Linked DNA regions of Homo sapiens: regions 2, 3 and 4 are each linked to region 1. Evidence: promoter capture Hi-C in human tissues and cell types (Jung and others, 2019). All regions are on one chromosome and are shown on one strand. The core of a region is centred on a gene start or on the middle of the fragment in contact, and the rest is flanking DNA. Distances in the headings are between cores, read along the strand shown. Region 1 holds the start of CCT8 (chaperonin containing TCP1 subunit 8). Region 2 overlaps GRIK1 (glutamate ionotropic receptor kainate type subunit 1). Region 3 overlaps GRIK1 (glutamate ionotropic receptor kainate type subunit 1). Region 4 overlaps GRIK1 (glutamate ionotropic receptor kainate type subunit 1).

Evidence for each region. Contacts are between HindIII fragments. The study calls those that stand out against the background at their distance.
Region 2: a fragment that was not itself captured here is called in contact with the fragment with the promoter of CCT8 in region 1 in 1 of the 25 tissues and cell types used here (dorsolateral prefrontal cortex).
Region 3: a fragment that was not itself captured here is called in contact with the fragment with the promoter of CCT8 in region 1 in 2 of the 25 tissues and cell types used here (lymphoblastoid cells and mesenchymal stem cells).
Region 4: a contact is called between a fragment that was not itself captured here and the fragment with the promoter of CCT8 in region 1, in 1 of the 25 tissues and cell types used here (lymphoblastoid cells).

Annotation. Positions count from the first base shown.
Region 1 is chr21:29,071,633-29,075,441 of GRCh38, forward strand. It overlaps CCT8 (chaperonin containing TCP1 subunit 8), which reads right to left and starts at 2,016. Exons shown (of 15, transcript NM_006585.4): 1 at 1,899-2,016. The coding sequence starts at 1,958. RefSeq lists enhancers at 1,088-1,999, 1,452-1,621, 2,000-2,911, 2,072-2,241, 3,788-3,809. The HindIII fragment of the contact is 6,058 bases long and covers 1-3,809 here.
Region 2 is chr21:29,881,885-29,885,693 of GRCh38, forward strand. The region is part of intron 1 of GRIK1 (glutamate ionotropic receptor kainate type subunit 1); the gene reads right to left. Among named protein-coding and RNA genes, the nearest start is that of GRIK1, 56 kb to the right of the region's middle. The HindIII fragment of the contact is 6,023 bases long and covers 1-3,809 here.
Region 3 is chr21:29,795,205-29,799,013 of GRCh38, forward strand. All of the region lies in intron 1 of GRIK1 (glutamate ionotropic receptor kainate type subunit 1), which reads right to left. Among named protein-coding and RNA genes, the nearest start is that of GRIK1-AS1, 49 kb to the left of the region's middle. The HindIII fragment of the contact is 4,800 bases long and covers 1-3,809 here.
Region 4 is chr21:29,640,170-29,643,978 of GRCh38, forward strand. GRIK1 (glutamate ionotropic receptor kainate type subunit 1) reads right to left here. Exons shown (of 18, transcript NM_001330994.2): 7 at 2,657-2,800. Among named protein-coding and RNA genes, the nearest start is that of GRIK1-AS3, 15 kb to the right of the region's middle. The HindIII fragment of the contact is 4,786 bases long and covers 1-3,809 here.

The DNA.
Region 1 (3,809 bases), core at 766-3,265:
GACCTCGGCCTCCCCAGTGTTGGGATTACAGGTGTGAGCCACCAACCCCTGCCAATAGCCACTGCTTTAAAAGCATCTTCAGCAATAAGAACTGTTATTCCAGCAATAACACTTAAGTCTGAACTCCTGGCTTACACTCTTGCTTCTTCCCCTCACTCCCCATTCTGTGAGAAACTACCATTTGATCAGATCCCCTCATTCCCATACTTAAGACCCTTCAATGGTTTCCCAACCAGCTTAGGATAAAATGCAAATCCCTTTTCAAGGAAACAAGGCCCTACGTATCCCGGCCCTTGTATGGCTCCTCCTCTGAACTTACCATTCTTCCTTTCTTTGGTAAGCTTCAGCCCTACAACCTGTTGTTGTTGTTGTTGTTTTAAAAAAAAAACAGGTCAAAATCATTCCTTCCTCAGGGTCTTTGTACTAGTTAGTCCCTGAGCCTGGCATTTCCCCCTAAGTAAGAGGTCGGGGGAAACAGCCCAGGCTCAGGGGCTTCTCTCACTAAGCACTGAGCTAAGAGTTCTTCCCTAAACGTCTAAGTGTTCTGTCTATTCCTGATCCTTCTTTTACAGACATTTTTACCTCCTGTCATCCTCTACTATAGTGCAGTTTCTTTCATCATTATTTGGAATTCTCCTTTTATTTAATCATTATTTCTGCCTTAGAAGGACATAAACTCTACGACAAATGGGACTTTTGTCTTTCACTGCAGTTCCTTCAGTACCTATTTATTGAAAGAAATAGCTCAGTGTTCTGTAAAAAACTACTAGCACTGGAATGACAAATAATGTTTTGTGATACACGAGTTTTCCAAAACTGTATTAGTGAAAAAAACCCAAATTGGAAGCTATTATCTCAGCCTGATTTTTTCAAGGGAATCAGCCCATATCATTTTCAAAAGATTATTCCACCAACATTTACCTTGAACCCTGACATTTACTTACTATACCGACATTATTTGAAAAGTGCATCCTACAAACATGAACCTAGTTCTATTAAACTGTTAATGCTCCCCGTACCTCGCATAAAACCTTAAATTCAACCACACTGATCTATTTCTTGAATTAACAAAATCTGGAGGACACACAGAGGAATGCAATTTGAATAGCACAAGAGACAAATTTATCAATAGTGCAGTAAGATATTTTTTAAAACTATGCTACCGAACTAACGTTCAAGAAAAGGCCATTAAACAAAAGTGTTATCTGCACCCCTCTATCACTTATCCTGCAGATTACACAGAACTCAAAGACACCACCTCTTGGTCCAATCTCCATAATTTAAAGACGAAGGAAACAAAACCCAAGAAAGTTACATTTTAGATTAAGCCAGCTAACATAAGTTGGGACCGGAACTCATTTGGCTACAACGCATGGCTTCTGTCAACTAAGCTGAAAGCCGTATGTTTCTCACTGGGAAGCAAGCAACCAAGACCCGGCCCTTTTTCCCACTCTCTTCTCTGGATCGGCTAGTTCTCGTTCTTCCCCATCCTACAACTCGCGAGCTATGTGATAATCGACGTCGCAGTTCTCAAGACAATTTCATCTACGTTATTCAATTTCACCCTCACAACCTCCTTTAAGGGTGACGGGCCTTAGCCCCATTTACGGATGGAGGCAAAACGCACGCGCGGCTTCACATCCGTCCACCTTCAAGGTGTACAATGTCGATCGTGCCGCCGATCCCTCGGCCTTCTCCCGGTCGCGGAAGAAGAGAAGTGCCCGCAGGCTCCGGTGGCCGAGCCCTTCCAAAATCACCTCCCTTTCTGGAATCTTCTCTTCCCCCGGCCGCTGAGCCAGGGCAGCACGCTCAGCCCGTTAGTAGGCCCTCCTACTTCGCCGCGGCCGCCGCAGCCCTATGCTGACGCTCCCACCTCATTCCTTTCCTTCAGCCCTTACTTTCGCTCCCTCCTTGAGCATCTGGGCAAAGCCCGGAGCCTTGGGAACGTGAAGCGCCATGGCCAGCCTGCAGGAAGCAGTTCACGCGACCGCTCGGAAGACCGCGGAGGAAGCGAGGAGCACGCACAGCCTTCTGGGAAAGCAGCGTGGGGCCGCCTCACGCTCTTCCTGGCTCTCCAATTAGCCCACCCTTTCCCTGCCGCCAGGTCTGAAGCATCGCGAGAAGAGCAACCTCTGTGGCCAGAACCAAGCTGACGATCCCCGATCGGGTCGATCGATAGGGCGGGCCCAGGGAGCCCCTCGGGTTTCTGGCTCACGCACGCGCAGACAGCCCAGGCCGTGAGAGGTTGCTCCAGTCTGTGCTCTCTGACCGTAGTCAGTAGTCACGGCGTTAGATTTTTGCGGTTTTTGATCTGGAAGCCACACATCCTTAGCTTAATTTCCACGTATCTTCCAGACCCAGCCACCAACGTCAGGGCAGGTGTGCTTTTTTTTTCCCGAGGCAGAGCATCTGCCCCATCCCCCAAAATTGTCTCTAGGCGTCCGCTCTGTGTTGGGCACCATAGGAAGCGCTGGGAATGCGCACGATAATTAAAGTCGTCACTAAGAGTAATGTAGTACACATCAAGTGCTCAAGTGTGCCATATTCTGTGTGATCTGCTTTACATGCAGTATCTCTGTTAATGGTCAGTCTTAAAAATTAATGAATTGTCGGTTAAAATACCATTTAGTTTTCCTTCCATAAAATGGAGACGATACCATTAAAAATTAAAAATTAAATGGTACTGTCTCTATTTTGTAGAAGGGAAACTGAAGTTCACAAACTGTAAATAATTTTCCCAAGATCACAGAGCTAGTAAATATTAAAGCTAGAATTCCTATCTAGATCAGACTTATTGCAAAATGCCGGTTCTTAACCACTATCTATATTCCTCTTTTCTACTTCTTCCTGGGAATATAAATCCCTTTTACTCTTTTAAGATCAGATATAAATACATATTTATTTATCTGATTTATATATATAATATACACATTTTATATAAATATATCTGATTTATATATGAATTTATAGATAAATATAAATCCCTTTGGCTTGGTGGCATGCACCTGTAGTCTCAGCTGCTTGGGAGGCTAAGGTTGGAGGATCTGCTTGAGCCTGGGAGGTTGAGGCAGCAGTGAGCTGAGATCATGCCACTGCACTCCAGCCTGGGCAAGAGTGAGGCCCTGTCTCAAAAAAAAAAAAAAATTGCAAAAATGTAAATGCCACTGATATGGTTTGGATTTTTGCAAAAATGTAAATGCCACTGATATGTTTGAATTGCCTGCCCAAATATGATGTGGAATTATAATCCCCAGCTGTTCTTGTGATAGTGAGTGACTTCTCATAAGACCTGGTTGTTTAAAAGTGTGTGGCACCTCCCCACTCTGTCTCTTCCTCCTCCTCCAGCCTTGTAGGATGTGTCTGCTTCCCCTTCACCTTCCACCTTGATTGTCAGCTTCCTGAGGCTTCCCCAGCCATGCTTCCTGTACCGCCTGTGGAACTGTGAGCCAATTAAACCTCTTTTCTTTATAAATTACCCAGTCTCAGGTAGTTCTTTATAGCGATTCGAGAACGGACTAATACAGCCACCCTTTTCATTCTTGGAAAATAGAGATATTTTAAATAAAAACATACATATTATCATGTGATAGGATTATTATTTTTTAAATAACGTTAAAAATTTATCAGTTTTAATTTCTAATATAGCAAATATTCATACCTATAACCCACATAAACAAAAGACCTTTGGGGAAGTTAATTTTTAAGAGTCTAAAGGTGTTCTGAGACTGATACGTTAGAGAACTACTGTAATGATCAGTCCCGAACAACAGAACAATCCAAGATTTTTCCTGGATTAGCTAAGAAATAAA
Region 2 (3,809 bases), core at 753-3,252, 810 kb after region 1:
TTACAATTGACACATTTCCATTTTCTCCCAACAACCATCCATTTGTTTGCTTTTTCTATTCACTATGCTCGGAGGCAGGAATTCAAAAATTAATAAAACATACTCCTTGGCATCATGGGATTCGTAGAACAGAAAGGAGAACAGATGGTTGGGGTAAAGGTATCTGAGGCAAAGCCTTCACAGATCAGAACAGAGACAAATTAAACAAACAAACAAACAACAGTAACAATAAATAATGACATCAAAAAAAGGCCATAACAGGCATTTGTTGTCCGTTTAGGAAGAGATGGGACTTTTGGGTGGTTTTACTGTTTGGAAAATGAGTTTTGTGGTTTCATTTCTATCCTCCACATTCCATTAATTCCATGGTTCCCTGATGACTACCATATTATTCCTAGGTACCCCTTTTTTGACTTTTAAAAGAGTTTGGCCCATACTTAATGTATTTTTAAACGTTTTAACATTTACTAATATAGAACCTTCTATTGCCTATTTCCTTCTGGTTTATTCCCTTTCCTTCTGTCATTGAAGAAATGGTTCTAGTGGTAGAAATACTCCACGATTGAGAAGAATGTGGGAAGAAAGGAGGGCTGGTGGGTAAGAATTGCTCATGATGTCTCCCTCTGAATTCTGTGCTCTCACAATGACACTCCAATGTGTGGTTTGACGCCTGGAAGAAGCAGCTCATGATGGGGAAGAATCCAAAGCAATGTAGTTGGAATATCATGCGCAAAGAACTTACAAAGGGAAAAAGCTTATCAAATTCACAGAACCGAAATGAGGGTCCTTGGGAACAGAGAATTATCTCACATGCATATTCCCTGGCCTAGGTAAATAAGTGCTAGGCAAAAGTGCATGAGTAATTGAATGAGCCTGGAAAGTTTGTTTCTATTTCTCCACACATGAAATTCTTGTTTATCCTTTAAGTCTTAACTGAACATTGGCCTCCTCCATGAAGCATTCTCTATCTACCACGATCTATACAGAGCTCTCTTTTCCTTATTTATTTTTATACTAATAACCAGGGGCTGCAACTTGCTTTACTTTCTTGATGTCTAATTACTTTTTCTTTCCAACCAGCCCCCAAGGTCCTTGAAACCAGAAGTCCAGCTTTAACCTTAGTCATTACCTCCTTCAGGCTTTAACATAGTTCTGTGTTCATGGAATCGTGGCTTGTCTGTTGCTAATACCTGAGGGACTCAATCCAATACTAATTCAACAATGTCATGCTCATCTGGAAGCAGTATTTAATATATTTGGAAGGTAACTTAACCCATTTAGTGGTTTTCAGATATCGGGAAGTAGGAAAATGTATTTGTATATTCTACAAAATATTTCTAGTTATCTAACTTTCAGCAACCATTTAAATTTACTTTATAAACTCTTGTGGTTCTATGAAACAGTATTAGAACTGATAATAAGTGCAATAGAGGCTGGTGAGTCAAATAAAAATAATGGCTTCACATTTGACCTTTAGCAAGTAAAGAATTCTCAAGTATATAGATTTGCAATGGTTTTACTTCATTAAGTCACTCAGCGAGACTGACTATTGGTTGTTTCAGGAAAGAAAGTCATAACTAACAAGCAGAGAGTTCTTAATATCAGCCTCTGAGGTCCCCTGTTTGCCACAAAGCAAGTGGTGCACATTTTCCTTCCAAATAGAAAAAATAAAAATGAAATATAAAAGCTTATTAGACCTTCCAAATCAGGATCTTCTGTAGACACACTCAAGACACCCAGGAAGGCATCAGTGTTATCAGGTATCAGGTTATAAAGAAATCAGACTATAATCCTGTGACATTCTGAATGGGAATGGAAAGACTGGTTTACAATGATAGTTTAAAATTTAAAAATATTTATGTGTTTTTTCTCAAAGTCCACTTTCTTTTTTTTCTCATTGCAAGAAAATTAGAACAGACACATTTCAAAATCTCCCAGCACAGAATAGCTATATTCTGCAGTGAATACCAGTGAAACCACAGAATAATTAGAAAGAAAATACCTAAGAGAAAACCAATCAAAGAAAACCCGACAGGCTTCAACAGGTTTCCTTCAGGCCTGAGATATTGAAGTCCTTTTCCACTCTGACTCTTCCTAAAAAGAAGGGGGGGATGCTTTATGTAATCTATTGATAAGAAAGGAGGTAGACAGAAATCTTGACTCCCATGTGCTGCTCCATTTTATACAGGGAAACACATTGTCTACTGTTAAATAATTTTTCTTTGTAGTATGGTTCTGTTACCTGCCCATATCACTGTTCGATAAGCTGCTATGAGCAAACATATTATATTTAATGGAAGTTGAAAGAACAGGCAGAGGGTTAAGTTTTCCAACATGTATGGTTCACAAAGCCAGATGCCAAGATATGGTCTAATCTTCTAAATATATACATTTGTCCATTATAAATCCTTTTTCCAGAGTAATTTTTAAAACAAATCTCATTTTACTATCCTATCGTAAAATGTTTTTGAATTAACCAGAGTCTACTTACCATTTCTCTAAGTATGGTCAAGAGGAAGAACAGGTTGGTTGTATTTTTTTCCATATGAGGACTTTCGTCCCTCTACTCCCACCCCCGACTCTTTGTATTATGGACAGGGAAACAGAAAGGAAATTACTAAGTCAGGGAGAGAGTTACTTGATGGCCATGTTCATCTCTCAGTTTGCCATTTGATGACGTAAAACATAAGAAAACATGAAAGTGGGTGCCAATGTTTCTAACCTAACAGATAAAGTTTGTGGATTTCTGAGCTACATTGCATTACTAGTAATAACTGAAAACATAGATTATCAGCTATTGTGCTACATGCTTTACTTAAAGTAGTTATTATCTCCACCTTCAAGACGAGACAACGGAGATTTAGAAATTAAGTAACTTGACTAGTTAAAACTGACACTAAACCTCTTAATTTTAATCTCTCACTATAGCTACATGCATAAAGTTATGATTACTTAATTGCTGGAAGGGAATCTTCAACAGACATCCAGTGTTCACCCACAGAGCTATCCAGAAAAAGTTCCCAAATCACACAGATACTGGTTCACTTGGTGACGATGTTGCTCAAAACTGTTCCATAAAAGATTCTAATCCCAAATGAAACATTTCAATATTATTTTCATTATTGGAAAAATCTCCATATTTTAGGTCTCCTTGAGTAAATGAGAATGAGCTGCATTTTAAAAACTACTTTTTAATGGACACATTGTAATTATGCATATTTATTGAGCAAAAATGTGATAATGTGATGTTTCAATACATACATATATTGTATAATGATCAAATCAGGGTATTTATTGTGTTGACCGTGGATTTGCTTTCATGAATGTTCATATGTATGTCAGAGTTTCATGTCAGGGCAATGGACGTTGTATGGTTAAATAGTCTTCAACTTCTTCTTCTAAGCCTTTGCTAGATGGTTTTTAACTAAATATAGGCATATTAAAAGTTCTCTTCTCATACCACAACCCTGACCTAGCTGTAGTTGGTTTACAGTGGGACTCAGATGGATGGAATTATTTTTTCTTAACGTAAGAAAAATAAATTCCTTCCTAGAGATCTGCAAAAAAATCTTGTGATATAGAATTGGTGGGAGTGAAGGAATAGAATTTAGCCCTTGATTAAATACAGCACCTATTTGCCATTTAGAATTTTAGTGAAAGATATTGTCTTAGAAAACTTGCTTCAAAGGAAACATTAATGAAAAGGTAGAATGAGTGACAAATACTGCCAAAATTTCTATCATAGCATCAATGATTACATGAGTTAATGTACTGATGACTGCCTGCTGTAAATGCCCATCACTGTCAGC
Region 3 (3,809 bases), core at 447-2,946, 720 kb after region 1:
TTTGTATTTTTAGTAGAGATGGGGTTTCACCATGTTGGCCAGGCTGGTCTTGAATTCTTGACCTCAGGTGTTCCGCCTGCCTTGGCCTCTGAAAATGCTAGGATTACAGGCATGAGCCACCGTGCCCAGTCTGCTCTATTTTAAGATTGGTTAATTATCTATGATTTCTATTTTTCCCTGATCTTTTACACCAGTTCACACCATGTAAAATGACTTCCCTTTGAGCTATCCTTGCTGCTCAGGTTCCTGATCTCCCAGCAGCTGGTCTTCAAGCCTCTCTGGGTAACCTGTGATATCTTCATCAAGTATTCTCATTTTCTCCACACATTAGACCAATATTATTACTCCTTTCTTATCCTATTGCCCCATATTGCTCCACCTGAATTAATGTAAACTTTTTTTATAATAGTTTCTCAGATGCTAATAATTTCAACAGTCTTCAAGACCACAACTAAAGAATTTCCCGAATACTCTTTATCCATGCTACTTGACACTTCCTACACAGAAATAACTTTTGATGACTCTGTGAACAGATAAAGGCTCATTACTTTTAACATTTTCTAATAATTTAATGTATTTCCTCTTTTTTACTTGCTAGCAAGAGAGTTGCATATCATGAATCTTTTCTTTTGATAGTGAGGCTATCAACTTTTTCTTTTTTTCTGCTTGTAAGTCTGTCTAACTTGTCTCATATTTGGACAATGAGCTTCTAATGCTGTCCAGGGTTGTCAAAATCATACTTCTTCAATTCATTTGCCTACTCCATGACTACTGGAAATGGCCACATTTGTACATTATCACCCTTAAGATGGACACAATTTGTTTATGTTTCTAATTCTTAGCTTTGTCTCTTGAAATAAAGGATAGGACTCAGTTATTACATATTCAAAATTTTGTGTGCATTTTGTCATTGCAGGCCTATTTATTAAGAAAGTTTATGAAAATGTGTCCACACATCTACAAGTTTCAGAAATTTGAATTATATCTCATTCTTAGTGGGCTAAATAATGTGGAAGAAATTAATGCTGACAGCAGTCATCATCTCTTAGTCTTCATTCTATCCCCAAGGCTGAGTGTGGTTCTTGGGTCTTTGAAGTCCCTAGTTAATGTCCATTTAATGAATGGAGACCAAAGTAAAATTTGGAGAAAGACCTAAACTGCCCCAATCAATTTAATGATAACTGATACAGGTCAAGTTTATTGTTATATTTTAATTGTTAATTTTCACCATTGAGATTATATAATTTTAATTACAGAAATTATATCTGTATAATATATTATACATTATATATTCTATTGCGTATCATATAAAATATTATGTAAGCTATTTTGTAACTTTAGGCACTCAGCAATTGATCTGATCTCTATTATAAGAAGTGCAGCGTATCTGTTTTTTTCTTGGTTTCCATTATTATACATAGTTAACAAAGCTACATCTAAACCAACATTAAAACAGAATTTGGGATGGGTGAGGTAGCTCACACCTGTAATCCCAGCACTTTGGGAGGCCGAGGTGAGCAGATCACTTGAGGCCAAAAGTTCGAGACCAGCCTGGCCAACATGGTGAAACCCCATCTCTACTAAAAATACAAAAACTAGTTGGGTGTGGTGGTGCATGTCTGTTATCCCAGCTACTCGAGAAGCTGAAGTAGGAGAATCACTTGAACTGGGGAGGAAGAGGTTTCAGTGAGCTGAGATCACACCACTGCCCTCCAGCCTGGGTGACAGAGGGAGACTCTGTCTCAAAAGCAAACAAACAAACAAACAACAGAAAAAAAAAAAAGAAAAACCCACAGAATTTAGTTGGTTTCTAATGCGTTAGTACAAAAGTAAACATTTTAAATAGCCATAGCAGAAGGTGAAACTTTCCTATTATCAGGAAATCAGGTAGCGGCTATCAAGCTGCCAGCAAGACAGTGTCCTTACCTGCAAAAAAAAGAGGAATGAAGCTCAGAGATACACTGACCTTTTGTACTATGTGGGGAAAGGCTGCAATCATTTTCTTAAGCCTGTGTGAAAAATGTTTCTGGTATACTTTATGTCTTTGTGCATGGGAGGAAGGTCTGAGGAAGCCACGCAGAAAGCATCAGTGGCCAGAGAATAATTGCTGCCAATCAGGCCTTTCTCACCCACGGTTCTGAGATGGAGGAGTTGTCATGTGTACAAATGAATTCCTGATGTGACAGGCTGCCATGAACAGTGATATTTGGCTTCTGTTTCTAGTTGATTATACTACAAATCTATTCCTGGAGTGGAGAGATGTAGAGACATTGAAGCCAATGTATACGGGGAAGCTGTGTATTATATATGCACCCTCTCAGTTTTCACCCATTCACAAATTCCTGCCTGGACAAAATAATTCCATCACACAGCCTCGTAATTTATTTATAGTTAATCTATGACATATATGTAATTAGTTGCATTTGTCAATATAATAAAAATGTTGAATTTGCAAGGATAGTAGGCAAAATTCTTCACTAATTTTTGATCACCTTGAAAAGAACAGTTCCATTTAAAAGTTGTAGAGTTCTACATGAAGAGCAACACAATGCCTGAGCTTGTCATTTTTCTTTAACAATGTCCCGCCTAGATTTCTTTTATCAAAAAAGTACAACGTTTTCTCCCACTAGATGAGGTTTCCTCCTGCAATGCCCAATCATCCCTTTATTATTGCCTCCTCTGAGTAGATACTGCATCCTACACTCTTCATGAAATTCAGCTCTTTCTTCAGTGATGAAAAACAAATAAAGTCTGTTTTTCAGTTTGTTGGTTTTTAGTCCCAATGAGTATGTTTTCTTCTTTTGTTTTGTACTCATATGTAAGTCCCCAGAGTACTTCTAAAACAAATTATAGAGAATAGGTGGCATCTACTCAACATGATGAGTCCTGAATACCGACTGGAAGAAATTGACTTTATTTATTAAAGATCCTTTCTATCTACTGTCTTTTATAATATACTTGGCTGTCTGTCTTGCATTGATCCAACCTGATAATAAGCTTTATTAGGTCTATCCTCTGAACATCCAAGGATACTGCTGCTAAAAATTCTTAGGCGAATGGGAAGTAATGACTTACCAGATTCTCAATTTAGGTTTTATTGGTGACCTCACTGAAAAAGCTAACAATAGGATGGATAAAATTTAACTCTACTACGTACTCCAGGATTATCGTTCATTACTTTAATGTAAGTAGTGCTAAGTAGTTTAGCATAACTTTAAACACACAAGTTCTTTTTCTTACAACTATATAGCTTAGAGCCCTAAGATGATTTAGTTGTTCAAATTTTTCCCTAAAATTCTGCAATTTGAATAAATATGAGAACTCCAAGTGAATTCCAGTCTTAACATTGTATCACATTAAATTGAAGAAAGAAAAGCAAGACAACTACCACAGTGCCTTTTAAAAATCCTTCATTCATTACCTGCATTTCTCAAAGAATTTTAGAGTGATTTCAAAGAACATTAAAAGAAACACTTTTCAAAGTCCACTTTCCTCTCAATTCCTGTCTCCAAATACTCCTCGGCATGTCCAAAGCCTCTTTGGGTTGCTCAAAGCAGTATTAACGTGCTGACAAATTCTAGGGACTCTGTATATTAATTCTCCTTAAACATTGGTGGGTTAAAAATGACACTATATAGTCCGAAGACATCACCTGGCTGGCTTGCTTTACTTGGTGGTTGGTTTGGTTAGATGCTGTGTTTGGTGGAGGTAGGAGTGAAGATTGGAGAGAGGCTGAGAGAGATCGATGCTAAATTAATTCCATTTGTCCCTACTGACAATCAACAAAAGATTACCTCCAGATAATACTA
Region 4 (3,809 bases), core at 792-3,291, 570 kb after region 1:
AAAAGAAGCAGCGGGGGAAATTTGGGGACCAAGTTCCTTATTTCATGTTTCCTAATGAAACCTGATACTTGCAAAATTTTGTTCAGTTATGCACTCATCTGAAAAAACACGTGCACTTTCTCTTTTGCATGTTTTAGGTTGTCTCAGAATTTCCTCAGTGCCAGTCCTCCAGCAGGCTGAGGCATTGCTTCTGGTTACCCCATTCCATCTTCTCTGTAGGTACCTACACCCTGCCAAAGGTAGCATATGACATCCTGACTCAGGAGACAAAAGAGGATGAGCACAATGTTGACAATGGTTTCTGATTCATTCCCCCCTCCCTTCCTGTAACCCCTAACTGTGGAGATTAAAAATGAGAGATTTGCTTCTTTGGAGTGAATGAATATAAAATGCCTTCTTATTTTCAGTGTGGTCCCTCATCTTGGAGCTCATTATTTCTTTAAATATGCCTAAATGTGGCTTGGTAATTTCACCTTCTTATGCGACTTAAGTACAAGTGATAAGGTGTCTTGGGGGCTCTTGAGTGTTTGATCCCAAGCTTTCATGTCACTTCTGCCTCTCCTTGAACTTCTAGGAGATAAAAGAAAACCAGCTGTTTTCTTGTTAAAGATCAAGGTAATCAGGATGGCGATTCAGGACACAACCATGATCACTGCAGGGAAAAGGAGGTGGTGTGATGTTTTTCTATTAGGCACAGTGTGTCAGAGTTATGTAGCTGTCAGAAAAGGTATTTTGTTTCATGCCTATTTGTGATGTCTTTGTTGTTGTTGTTGTTGTTGCCAGTTTGAAATTCCTGGTATCATCTTCAGTAAACTGAATGAGGCTATTCTTAGTGGTGCCTTCCAATGGCAAGAGAATAGTATTTCAGATGCTTACTAGGTTTCTGAACTATTCTTCACAAGCATTTGCCTAATTCTTTATCCTTACAGTCATGCTGTGGGGTAGATGATACTATACCCATCTTATAGATAAGAAAACTGAGAGACAAGAAGTGTAAGTAACTTGCTGATATGGTTTTGGTGTGTCCCCACCCAAATCTCATCTCGAATTGTAGCTCCCACAATTCCCATGTGTTGTGGGAGGGACCCAGTAGCAGGTAATTGAATCATGGAGGCAAGTCTTCCCATGCTGTTCTCGTGATAGCGAATAAGTCTCATGAAATCTGATGGTTTTATAAATGGGATTTTCCCTGCACAAGTTTTCTCTTGCCTGCCACCATGTAGACATGCCTTTCACTTTCCGCCATGATTGTGAGGCCTCCTCAGCCACGTGGAACTGTGAGTCCATTAAACCTCTTTTTCTTTATAAATTACCCAGTCTCAGGTATGTCTTTATCAGCAGCATGAAAATGGACCAATAGACTTGCCCAGGTTATATTGCTCATCAGTGTTAGTGGAACTAAGATTTAAACCCATGCAGTCACTGCCAGGACTAGGATAAAGTAAGAGAGGTGCTCAGGGTACAAAATTTAAGCGAGAATTTCCTCTTAATCTTGTGCAAGTATAGAATACTCACCCAAGAATGAATGTTTCCTTAAATTGCACCCTCATCCTGGGCTTGCAAGCAACCTAGATTTGTAGCCTAGGTACTTAATCCTTATACATCCCGCCTGCTTTATCCTCACCCTCATGGATCAGAGTCAGCCTTTAGTTGCATTGAACAGACTGAGAGAGGGTGTGCAGGCATGGAAGAGACCAGCAGAGACACGAGTCCAAAGCAGGTGTCTTTCCTTACTCTTAGCTGGGTATTCTCCTGTGCCCTCCCTCTTCTTTACACTATATTTCCATCCTTCTCCAGTACAGAAAGGAAAAAAATACTCTTCACTTGAGAACTAAATGTCTGTATCCCATAGAGAAATATTAGAATAGCATCTCAGAGCATTGCGCATACTCAGGCCTAGCTACTCCAAAGAGCCTTATTTCTTATCATCAAGTCCAGACACACCCTGAGGTTCGTGGTGGAATGGATGATCATGCAGTGTACATATCGATAAGGAGTCACGGGGCTTAGAACAGGGCCTTGTGACAAGGAGTCAAACTGCCTCAGAGAAAAGAAAAGGTGGAGGACAGTCCAGGATCCCAGGACATCAGTGAAGATATCTATCCCTGCAAATACCCCATACTCTCAAAAATCTTTTATGTGCTCAGTAGGTTTTGAATGGGAATAAACTTTTCCAGTTAGCTGATAAATGACAAAATAGTCACTATATAATTAAAGAGGTCCTTCCACTCAGTCCTGTACAGCCTGAGCTTTAGGAGGCCACTGGGATTGTGGACTGATAATGCTGGAACTATCTCTGGTACCCTTCAGTAATGGATCAACTCTCCCCTTGACTCAGTGGGACATGGAAGAAACACCCATATGCCCTTATGGACATGTGTGGAGAGCCAGCAGGAGCTATGGCCATGGCTGGCATGAAGGAGAGTAAGTGTTGGTATCTGGTAGCGTCACTGAACTTCTCAGCATCACAATGGAAAATTCCTGCTAGTCCTTCTGGACAAACTTTTGACACTGAAATCTGAGCAGACTGGTTGATGATGGCTTCCTCTCTCTTAGGGGCATCATGCCAGCAGAACCCTGTGGGGAGGACCATACCAAATGGGCAAGCCCAACAGTGCTCAGAAGGGCCCCTGGGCTGTGAGGGAGCATCACTTGCCTCTTTGATCAGGTTCATAAATCTGGGTCCGAGGCGCCATGGCTTATGTCTATGGCACTGCAGGGAGCTGACGGTCAGCTGGGATGCCCGGTGCGAGGCAATGGCCACCATGTACACAGCATCGTACATCAGAGCCGCTTCAGTCTGTGGAGGAAAACACACACCGCATCTTAAATTCCACTTTTGCTTACCTTCCTTTACTTGCATAATCACTCTCCCTGCTTCCATAGCTCTTATCTGTCTGATCTCAAAGGCCATTTACTCTTCAGCTAGGTAGTTTTCACTCTCCAATAGCTATTTTTCTCCAAAATAATACCTCACACTTTGGAGTAAATTGAAGTTATAACTCTGCTTCGTTTCAAGTTCTTTAAAAAAAAATAAAGCAACCCAGATCAGCCACAAAAGACTTGATTCAAGGAACAAATATTTTGCGAAGTGTCCTCCATGTTAAGCATGGTGTTAAGATCAACTACCTTGAGCTAGAAGCTACTAAAGCTCAAAGTTGCAATATCAGATTTGTTTCTCAGCATTTGTCTATATCTATTTATCTATCTACTTACTGGTTTATATTTGGTAGAAAGAAACTGCTACAATCACTAACAGGTGATTTCCAGATAAGGATACTGGTGTTGGTCACTTTCATTTAGCAGAGTTAAGAAGTTCATAGTCATGGAATGAAACTCAACGGCAAGTTTTGGGAGACCCTCTGAAGGGCAGACAAGTGCAGCTTGCTCAGAACATGCCTCCTCTTGCCAGCATGTGCTTTCTTGAGAGAGATTGAAACAAGTCGGTCATTCCTTTTAGGGGGTTGGGCATCTCGTTCTTCCCTTCCTCATGAAATTCCTCTCACTTGCACAATTTTACATAATACAGCATTTTATAAAATATGCTTCCCTGTGGTTTCCTTTAGGGATAAAATCTTATAATACCCTTGCATTTCACTTGAGGGTTTCATTGCAACTTCAAATACATTAGCTCATTTGAAATTCTCAACAAGTCTTCAAAATAAGCAGAAGAGATAAAGCTATTTATTATGTGAGAAAACTCACTTCGAGGTAGGATATTTGTGGAGGGGCACACACATGCACACACACACACACACATGCACAGCCACACACACACCACATACACAATCATAGTGAGAAATCCCAGA